Linked DNA regions of Homo sapiens: region 2 is linked to region 1. Evidence: promoter capture Hi-C in 16 types of primary human blood cells and fetal thymus (Javierre and others, 2016). All regions are on one chromosome and are shown on one strand. The core of a region is centred on a gene start or on the middle of the fragment in contact, and the rest is flanking DNA. Distances in the headings are between cores, read along the strand shown. Region 1 holds the start of URB1 (URB1 ribosome biogenesis factor). Region 2 holds the start of TMEM50B (transmembrane protein 50B).

What was found. The method cuts DNA at HindIII sites, captures the fragments that hold promoters and counts their contacts. A CHiCAGO score of 5 or more calls a contact.
Region 2: the fragment with the promoter of TMEM50B here is called in contact with the fragment with the promoter of URB1 in region 1 in 9 of 17 cell types (naive CD8 T cells, non-activated CD4 T cells, total CD8 T cells and 6 more); the score reaches 15.9 in naive CD8 T cells.

The regions. Positions count from the first base shown.
Region 1 is chr21:32,390,468-32,395,944 of GRCh38, reverse strand. URB1 (URB1 ribosome biogenesis factor) reads left to right here and starts at 2,933. Exons shown (of 39, transcript NM_014825.3): 1 at 2,933-3,176. The coding sequence starts at 3,035. It overlaps URB1-AS1 (URB1 antisense RNA 1 (head to head)), which reads right to left and starts at 2,812. Exons shown (of 1, transcript NR_026845.1): 1 at 1,985-2,812. RefSeq lists enhancers at 2,331-2,580, 2,103-2,884, 2,731-3,025, 2,885-3,667. The HindIII fragment of the contact is 11,778 bases long and covers 1,091-5,477 here.
Region 2 is chr21:33,477,558-33,483,034 of GRCh38, reverse strand. It overlaps TMEM50B (transmembrane protein 50B), which reads left to right and starts at 3,061. Exons shown (of 7, transcript NM_006134.7): 1 at 3,061-3,197. It also overlaps the pseudogene RPS5P3. The HindIII fragment of the contact is 5,416 bases long and covers 723-5,477 here.

The DNA.
Region 1 (5,477 bases), core at 1,684-4,183:
TTAGCTATTGCTAATGTAGAGGTAATGCTACCAATTTTGGTAACTGATTTTATGTCTGACAACCTTGCTAAATTCTTATTTAGCTTGCATTTCTATTGAATTTTCCAATTAGATTACAGTTTCATTTCTTATTTCTTTGTCTTGCCTTATTTCACTAGCCACGACCTCTCGTAATAGATAGTAGCATGGTGGACATCCCTGTTTTTCCTATTGTTCCCAGTCATAATTCAAGTTCATATAGTTTTCCCATTGTGCATGATAATTGCTGCAGGTTTTTGGTATATAGTCTTTACCAAGTTAAGGAAAGTCCTTCTATCCCTAGTTTTATGTGAATTTTAAAAATCATAAATAGGTATCTTTTCAAATGTCTTTTTCCATCTATTGAAATAATAACGGATTTTTCTCCTTTAATCCATTATTGTGGTGAGTTATATAAGCAAGATATTCTTTCCTTGTATTTCTTGTGTTTTTTTCAAGTGCTGTTTTGTATTCAGTTAACTAATATTCTATTTACACACATTTATATCCATACTTGAAATAAGTTCATCATTTTCATACTTTGTGTTATCCTTAGCTTGTTCTGTATTTAAGGTTATATGAGCCTCGTAAAAGATGTTGGGATACTTTATTTTTTATTTTGTGGAACTAACGGCACAAGGTGAGAATTATCTGTTTCTGAAAAGATTGTTAGAACTTAACTGAAAAATCATCTTCATGTTGGGAAAGTGCTATGGTTTGAACGTTTGTGTCCCCCTCAAATTCATTATGTTGAAACCCCATCCCAAGTGTGATATTTGGTTGTGGGAGGCCTTTTGTGAGGTGACTAGCTCATGAGGGTGGAGCCCTCAGATGTAATTAGTGAGTGTCTTTATAAAGTAGGCCCAATCAAGAAAGGTCGGGAGACAGAGAGTGAGGTATGTACAGGAAAAGTCCACATCTGAGCCACTTGAGCTCTGGGCAAAGAGTTTCAAAGAGAGGGAACAAGTACAAAAGCTCTCGGGCTTTTTTCCTCAGCTTAGAATGTCCTAGGAGCAGTACCACATAGTCTGCAACAAACCAGAATGCTCCTGGAGGCAAATAATACAAAGCTTTGATATGGAAAGACAAGTCACTATCCAGAGGTTGGTGAGCCTCATATCTGAACAAAGGGTTAACCCAGCATCAATGATTCATGGCATTAACTTAGTCTAAAACATCCAAATGCACTTCTGAGCCACACTTGCCATCCATACATCTCTGGCTAAGGCTGTAAATGGGCACTGCCAACTTCTGTTTCTTTGTTTTTAATTTGGGACTAGGATACACTGGGTGAGTCCTGGCTCCACCAGTTACTAGCTGGATAATCCTGGGAAGTTCCTCATGCTCTTTAATTGTTTGTAAAGCAAACCAGCACAGAGGGATGGTAATTTGCCCAAGGTCACACAGGCAGAAACTGAACTCAGGGCTTTTGACTGTTTCCTAACTCTTTCTGATAACTTTTTGGTTGGGACCACCATGGCAGAAAACAAAGTTGGTGGTTAGCGATTAACCAAAGAAGAGGACCAGTGTGGATAATCAGTCAGAATTAAGTCTGTATTCACTAATGAGTGTTGCCTTTTACAGATGACTTTTTGAGCATATTCCCCTCTCTTAACATTGCTGCATTAGCTCATATCTGCTAGGGGTGACACCCTCTCTCTGACCTGCCTACAACATAGACATCTCCACAGGCACAATCATCTTGTCGGGACAGAGGCTCAGCGTCAACACACGTGCTTTTTCTACTAGAAACTCTGAGACCCCAACAGGCCACAAAAGCCCACATCCTCAGATGTTCAAAACACATCTGCTTACAGAATATGAAACACAATTTTCTTAGACTAGAGGACAACCTGATGGAGAATTTCAGTAATCACCAAGTTACTTATCTAATGCGCTGGTTCATGATTTATTTGGACACATACCTAAGTATCGATGAAGTCGTATTAAAATATGTACCAGCCTGTTTTTACTTATTTTTACTTTCATTTTATTTCAGAGCATTTAATGCGGTTTACAAATCAATCACATCTTCCAAAAACACACTGTGTTGTTTTTCTCCTCAAAGCAGTTTTTCATACATTGCATCATTTTCTGTTCATAACAGTCCCAAGGACTGGATAGGGTCGGCTTTGCTGTCTCCATTTTAATGACAGGAACTTAGATGTGGAGGCCTTACGCTGTCCAGGAAGGGGTTTTACAGACGTTACTTCGTTTGGTCTTCTCCTCCCACCCTGCACGGCGCAAAGAGCCCATCAGTTTGCGGAAGTCTGGGGTGGAGGACAGTCTGGAGTGACAGGCTGCTACCAGACCAGTCGATCTGGTTCGGGCTGTGACATAAGCTAGGGGTCGAAGTCAGGGGCACCCGCACAGGCGGACCTGCCTGGCACCTAGCCAAGGCGAATCCACCTTCCCGGCCAGCCACCAGGGCCTTGAATTGGCAAAGTATCGAATCCTGTTGTGTGTGAAGCAAGCTCTTCATGCGACACCTTCAGGGCGACCTCGGGTCAAGAACTACTCATTGTGCTGCTTGGACGCGCCGGGGCCCGAGTCTTCGTGGATCGGCCAGGCCAGGAGTGAAAGGTCTGGGAGTTCTTCCGGCCAAGAGCACCCGAAGAGCCACTGGGATCAGAAATGCGCCCCGGTGGACCCCAAACCCTGCAGCCGGGGGCGGGGGGTGTCGTGGAGTGTCCGCTCGCCCCATGCCGTGACCGGGACAACCGGTACAGCAAACTCACATGGAGCCCCAAGACTCTGGATCCCCAAGACTCTGGATCCCTATCGCCCCGCCCCTTCTGCAGGCCACGCCCCTTCCGCCGGTCCCAGCCTCGCGCGGGTCGGCCCCTTCCGCCGGCCTTTCCCCGAGCCCCGCCTCTTCCGCCAGCCCCGCCTCTTCCGCCAGCCCCGCCTCTTCCTGCGCCATGTGGGCCTGAAGCGCGTGTCTGCTGTCTGTGCCAGTGCTCCTGCCGGGTCCCCTCAGGTGTGTCGTTTCCGTCGCGCTTCCGCCCTCTCGGCCATGGGGGTCCCCAAGAGGAAGGCCTCGGGCGGCCAGGACGGCGCGGCTTCCTCCGCGGGTGCAGCCAAGCGCGCCCGCAAAGAAGAGCTCACGGGCGTGCGGTTCAAGGCTCAGCTGAAGGACCCGCAGGGCCCCGGGCCAGGTGAGTCCGGGGCGGCAGGCGCAGGGTCGGGAGCACAGGCTGGCGAGGCGGCCTCCGTGTGCCGGGCACAGCCTCTCCTTTCTGCAGCTTTCGGGTCACATAGGCTCAGTGGCAAGCCTCTGGTTTGCAGAAAACTGAGGTTCAGGACTGCTGTGTACTTCCTTGCTCTGGACTGTCGGCGACAGCGAGAGGGCCCCGACTTGCTTGATTGGGACCGTTTCATGTTACAACACATTTATTTCCCTTGCCCAGGCAGCATCCCTCAGCGAGCTCTAAAACCTCTTTATTGCAGTTGTCAGGGAAGTAAATGAAGTGTCCTTCTCTATTGAGTCCTTACTGAGTCGGCTCAGGACGGTTCATGAGACAGTTTGCTACTCCTTGGGCCGTCAGCACCGTTTTCAATAGCTTCCATCCCCCAACACTCATACTGACTTGATGACTTGTAACAAGCTACTAGAAGCCACCACAGCTACTTGTCAGTTGACCAGGAATGGGCCAGTGACTGAGATGTAGCCGACTCTATAATTTAATTACACTTTTTGTAAAGTGTGACCACCCTTCGCGACTACTTGTAATCGTTTGGAAAGTAACATGGTTTGGGAAAAACGCAATTGAACGTGTTGCCATGTGGAAGCATTGCTCTAAAATAAAACAGTGGCAGTTTTTCTCCCAGGTTAAATAAACGATTAAATTAATGGCCAAAATATCTTCAACTTCCAATTTTTGTCCTCATTTTTTTTTTTAAACGACAGGGTCTTGCTCTGTTGCCCAGGCTGAAGTGCAGTGGCACTATCATAGCTCACTGCAGCCTTGAACTTCTGGGCTTAAGCTGTCCTCCCACCTCAGCCTCCCAAGTAGCTGAGATTGTAGGTGCACAACACCATGCCCAGCTATGTTTTTTTTTTTTTTTTTACTTTTTGTAGAGATGGAATCTCACTATGTTGTCCAGGCTGCCCTCGAACTCCCAGTCTCAAGCAATCTTCCCACCTTGTCTTCTCAAAGGGCTGGGAGTATAGGTATGAGCCACCACACCTGGCCTGTTTTTAAACTTTGATACCTATACCTGTACTTGCTAGTCACAGCTAGGAAGATGATACTTAGTTAGCATAGAGTTATTTATTTCCGAATTCATTAAGTATTACTAGAGGCTATTATTTGCTACGGTAGAGATAAAGTGATGAATAAAAATGTCAAAAAGCCTCTGCCATTGTGGGGTTTACAAACAGTCGAGTGGGGCAGGCAGATATTGGTCAGTAAAATCACATACATACAGTTTCAAGCACGAGTTTTCCAAAGGAGAGGTACATGGTGCCTGAGGGTGTTTAACAGACCTTGGATCTAATCTGGGAGCTCAAAGAAGGCTCCCCTGAGGAAGTGGCTTTTCTTTTCTTTTTTTTTTAATCATACTTTAAGTTTTAGGGTACATGTGCACAACGTGCCCCTTTGTTACATATGTATACATGTGCCATGTTGGTGTCCTGCACCCATTAACTCGTCATTTAACCTTAGGTATATCTCCTAATGCTGTCCCTCCCCCCTCCCCCCGACCCGACAACAGGCCCCGGTGTGTGATGTTCCCCTTCCTGTGTCCATGTGTTCTCATTGTTCAGTTCCCACCTATGAGTGAGAACATGCGGTGTTTGGTTTTTTGTCCTTGCGATAGTTTGCTGAGAATGATGGTTTCCAGCTTCATCCATGTCCCTACAAAGGACATGAACTCATCGTTTTTTATGGCTGCATAGTATTCCATGGTGTATATGTGCCACATTGTCTTAATCCAGTCTATCATTGTTGGACATTTGGGTTGGTTCCAAGTCTTTGCTATTGTGAATAGTGCCACAGTAAACGTACGTGTGCATGTGTCTTGATAGCAGTATGATTTATAATCCTTTGGGTATATACCCAGTAATGGGATGACTGGGTCAAATGGTATTTCTAGTTCTAGATCCCTGAGGAATCGCCACACTGACTTCCACAATGGTTGAACTAGTTTACAGTCCCACCAACAGTGTAAAAGTGTTCCCATTTCTCCACATCCTCTCCAGCACCTGTTGTTTCCTGACTTTTTAATGATCGCCATTCTAATTGGTGTGAGATGGTATCTCATTGTGGTTTTGATTTGCATTTCTCTGATGGATCTAATTAAACTAAAGAGCTTGTGCACAGCAAAAGAAACTACCATCAGAGTGAACAGGCGACCTACAGAATGGGAGAAAATTTTTGCAATCTACTCATCTGACAAAGGGCTAATATCCAGAATCTACAATGAACTCAAACAAATTTACAAGAAAAAAAAAAACC
Region 2 (5,477 bases), core at 1,812-4,311, 1.1 Mb before region 1:
CCAGGCTGATCTGGAACTCCTGACCTCAGGTGATCCAACCGCCTCTGGTTCCCAAAGTGCTGGGATTACAGGTGTGAGGCACTGTGCTCGGCCAAATGCCCATATTTTTGAAAGCATAACTAAATACATGTTTGACTCTTTGTGGAATAGAGGTTTATAGACTGAGAGAAGCAAATTGTGCTATGGTTTGAATGTGTCCCCAAAAAGTTCATGTGTTTGAAACTTAATTACTATTGTAATCGTGTTGAGAGGTAGAACCTTGAAGATGTGATTGGGTCATGAGGGCTCCACCCTCACGAATGGATTAATGCTGTTATTGTGGGAGTGGGTTAGTTATCTTGGGATTGGGCTCTTGGTAAAAGGATAGCGTCAGCCTGATTTTCTCCTTCTGTCTTGTATGCTCGTTGGCCCCTGTCTGTCTTGTTTTCTACCATGGGATGACACAGCATGAAAATCCTTACAAGATGCCAGCACCATGCTCTTGGAGTTCCCGGCTTCCAGAACTGTGGACCAAATAAAACACTATTGTTTATAAATTGCCTGTTCTGTGTTATTCTGTTATAGCAGTAGAAAAGGACTTCAGACAAGCTGCATTAACATAAGTCTCCACTACTAAAAAAGCAACTTAAAGCATGTGCATCCCAACGGTAGGTGAACAGTAATGTCTTCCTTCATATATGGAGGTAATCATTTTTCTACAGATATTATTCTGTAACAAAGCTTAAAAAAATCCTGGGAAACCTTAAAATATTAGTACTTTAAAAAGCAATGGCCTGTCTGTGCCAGGGCAGCATGTGGTCCATGCTGATCGACAGAGACACTCAGGCTGTGCCCTCAGGATGACCGAGTGGGAGACAGCAGCACCAGCAGTGGCAGAGACCCCTTGACATCAAGCTCTCTGGGAAGTGGAGCACTGATGATATGCAGATCAATGGCATTTCCCTGCAGGATTACACTGCAGTGAAGGAGAAGTATGCCAAGTACCTGCCTCACAGTGCTGGGTGGTATGCAGCCAAATGCTTCCGCAAAGCTCAGTGCCCCATTGTGGAGCCCCTCACTAACTCCATGATGATGCACGGCTGCAACAACAGCAACAAGCTCATGATCATGTGCATCATCAAGCATGCCTTCGATTTCATCCACCTGCTCACAGGCGAGAACCCTCTCCAGGTCCTGGTGAACGCCATCATCAACAGTGGTCCCTGGGAGGACTCCACATGCATTGGGCGAGCAGGGACTGTGAGACAACAGGCTGTGGACATGTCCCCACTGCACTGTGTGAATCAGGTCGTCTGGCTGCTGTGCACAGGCACTCGTGAGGCTGCCTTCTGGAACATCAAGACCATTGCTGAGTGCCTGGCGGATGAGCTCATCAATGCCACCAAGGCCTCCTCCAGCTCCTATGCCATCAACAAGAAGGATGAGCTGGAGTGTGGGGACAAGTCCAACCGCTGATTTTCCTGGCTGCTGCCTAATAAACCAGTCTGCCCTTTGGGATGCCTCCCCCACCCCCCCAAAAAAAGTGATGAGATTTGGAAACTTCTAATTGTCCCCTAATATCTAGTTTTCCTTCCTTAGTACTGAAACCCCATTTTCCAGCCTTCTTTGCAATTTGGTGTAGTCAAGTGACTATTTTACTAGCAGAATGAAAACAAAAATGGTACATGCAACCCCCGCCCCTTTCAAAAGGTTCTTAAAGAGAGGAGAGTGTTCCCTTCTGTATCCTCTCTTCTGGTGGAATGCCAGCATTGTGACATATTTCAAAAGTAAATTATTCAGCACATATTTATTGAACACCTAGATCCTAGCCCATGTATAAGAGCTATAGGAGAACATTATCCAGGATGGCATTTTTGGTGATAATTCCATGATACAAAACCTTTTACTTCATTATGCCTCAAGTAAAATGCTTTTTAGATTTCCACTGATAATAACTCTACTTGGCTGGGCACAGTGGCCCACGCTTGTAATCCCAGCATTTTGGGAGGCAGAGGCGGGTGGATCACCTGAGGTCAGGAGTTCAGGATCAGCCAGGTGAAATCCCGTCTCTACTAAAAATACACAAATTAGCCAAGCATGGTGGTGCGCACCTGTAATCCCAGCTACTCGGAAGGCTGAGGTGGGAGGATTGATTGAGCGTGGGAGGTAAGAGGCTGCAGTGAGCCAAGATCACACCACTGCACTCCACCCTGGACAACAGAGCAAGACCCTGTCTCAAAACAAACAAACAAACCACCCAAAAAACAAAGCTCGACTTTCCCCCAAACAACTAAATGGTTATAGGCATTTCTGTAGGAAATTTAGACGGGGCTTCCAAACGCTGTTAAAGTTATGTTGAAAATCCAAGAGGCTGAAAGATATCTGACTATAAGAAAGACGAAAAAAAAAAAAAAAGACAAAAATCTACGTGAATAGACGGGAGAGCGCCGAGCGAAATCAGAAGACTAGTTGTATTGTGAGGATCACCTCGGGTAACCAGCACTCGCTGGGTAGCCCTGGTTTACTAACTTCAACTTTCTGGGGCTCCATTTCTGAATTGAGGGGATTAGAAAAAGGCATCTCTAAAGACCCTCCGTTCCCGAGAACCCTCCCGGAGCACCTTCCCTACTCTGGGCAGCTCGCAGACAGACAAGACTGATCGGCCATAGGCGAAGGGAAACCCTGGTCCCCCGGGTCTCGAGCTCCGTCCGCACGTAATCTCACGGTACTGCACTTCAAGTCAGCGTGCAGAAACGCAGCAGTGGGAGCCCGGCGGCGGCCGCCCACCGGCAGGGGACAGGAGAGGCCCGTCCCGCTCTGCCCGGAACCGTAGATAGCTGGGTCTGAACTCCGGCTCCGGGAGGCCTGCAGAGCAGCCCACCCCGTCCCTCGGAGCTCGCCCTGCCCCCGGCCGGCCACTTGCTGCACGCCGATTGGTCGCGAGGAGCGCCCGGCGTCCCGCTGCGCCCAGCCAACGCCCTCTCCCCGCCCCCTCGCGTCCCGCCCCGCCCCCGGCCGGCCACTTGCTGCGCTCCGATTGGTCGCTGCGGTGCACACGGCGCCTCGCCCCGCCTCACCGGCGCTCTATCCTCGCGTCTGCTCCCAGCTCCGGGCTCCCGGGGCTGAGGTGGAGCCGCGGGACGCCGGCAGGGTTGTGGCGCAGCAGTCTCCTTCCTGCGCGCGCGCCTGAAGTCGGCGTGGGCGTTTGAGGAAGCTGGGTGAGTCCTGTCTGTGGGTCTCCGGCGCCAGGCAACCGTAGAGGGCTCGCGCCCGCCGCCCGCGCGTAAGGAGGCTCCCTCGTCGGGCCCTGTCCGGCCCGGCCTTCTGGGGGCTGTGGGGCCGTCCAGCCGGGTTTTCCCTGCGTTCGGCGCCGGCCTGCAGACTCGGGCCCGCGGAGCCCCCGCCGCCCCTTCTTGCCCCTGCCCGCGTCCCTTCGGGCCGACCGTGACCGTGGCGCCGCCGCGACCCGCAAGCAGCCCGGGGAGGCTGCCCTGCCGCGCTGTCACGCCGTCAGGTTGCGTTCCTGGGGAGGGCTGGAGAGGCTCCATCTCGTGCCTTTCACCTTCTCGCGCGGCGGGCACGGAGGCGACGGTTTTCGGGACGCCCTGCTGCGGCCGCGACGCCCTCCCGAGGCCGGAGCGAGGGCCCCGGGGCGGCTCCAGCCCTTCTTCGCCCCTCCCGTTTGCCCCGAACCATTGCTAGGAGCCTGTGTTTTCTGCACTTTTCTGATTTCATTCTTACGAGAGTCAAGTACAGAGGCGGGAGGGGAAAGGGAAGGGGAACAACATTCTTTCGAGAATTATAAACCTTGAGCTCCGTTAAATAAGTAGCAGCAGAGCATTGTCACTGGAGCAGTGGTAGTCGCGGGTAGGACCGTTTCGGTTTTTAGCCAATAGGCTGGTTAAAGGTACTTAAAACAGTAAGTTGGAAGGTGCTGAAATTCTAAGGTAAATACGTGACCTTTCAAAACCAAAGCAGTGAGACGGGCTAGGCTGGGCTGCTCCCCGCTGCGCGTGCCTGGGTCGGGGGGTGCGGAGGGGCAGGGGGCGGAGGCCTCGGACGGGACGGGGTGGGAGGGAAGTGGCATCCGCATCGTCTTACATCGCGCTGTAAGACCCGATTTTCTCTTTTCGGAGGATCCCATCTCCCTTCTCAGACTCTTCATCCTACCTGCACTGTGGATCCCTTGACACTTCAGAGGCTCTGAACTCTCAGGCCGGTCACACTTTTTCATCATTTTGTTTCTTGTCTTTTAAACCTGCATGCATTTCAAACGTAGAGCAAACATTAAACTTTTTTTTTAAACTGAAGATAGTGGTGCAAGACTTTGTTATTGAAATGCAAACCAAAAGTTATCTTGAATATTTATCGCGCTGGAAAAGCAGGTTTAATTAGAGTGAGGTGGGGACGTATATTTCTTCTTCCGGAGACACAGCCTTCCCACTCACCACCCCAATCCCTCCTCTCTGTCAACTAGGGTTACAGCAGCCTTACACTGGCTAGTCTTTTCTGAATTCTGAATTCACTTCTGGGGGCCAAGGTAAAGAATTTATCGTATTTTATCCTCATTTTCCTTTTCTGTTTTTTTTGAGACAGAGTCTCCCTCGTTGACCAGGCTACAAGTACAGTGGCCCGATCTCTGCTCACTGCAGCCTGCACCTCTAGGGTTAAAGGGATTTTACAGCCTCAGCCTCCCGAGTAGCTGGGATCACAGGCGCCTGCCACCATGCCTGGCTAATTTTTATATTCTTAGTAGAGAGAGAGTTTCACCATGTTGGCCAGGCTGGTCTTGAACTCCTGACCTCAAGTGATCCGCTTGCCTCGGTCTCTGAAAGTACTGGGATTACAGGTGTGGGCACCGCGCCTGGCCTTTTAAAGTGTATTATTATTATTTTTAAATTTATTTATTTATTTATTTTTTGAGACAGAGTCTTGCTCTGTCTCCCAGGCTGGAGTGCAGTGGCAAGATCTCGGCTCACTGCAAGCTCCACGTCCTGGGTTCACGCCATTCTCCTGCCTCAGCCTCCCTAGTAGTTGGGACTACAGGCGCCCACCACCACGCCCGGCTAATTTTTTGTATTTTTAGTAAAGACGGGTTTTCACCGTGTTAGCCAGGATGGTCTCGATCTCCTGACCTCGTGATCCACCTGCCTCAGCCTCCCAAAGTGCTGGGATTACAGGCGTGAGCCACTGTGCCCGGCCTAAAGTTTATTTTTAACTTATGTATATATATATATAATTTTTGAGGCCGAGTTTTGCTCTTGTTGCCCAGGCTGGAGTGCAATGGCGCTATCGTGGCTCACTGCAACCTCCGCCTCCCAGGTTTAAACGATTCTCCTGTCTCAGCCTCCCAAGTAAACTGGGATTACAGGCGCCCGCCGCCACGCCCAGCTAATTTTTGTATTTTTAGTAGAGACTCGAACTCCTGACCTCAGGTAACCCCCCCCCGCCTCGGCCTCCCAAAGTGCTGGGATTACAGACGTGAGCCACCGTACCTA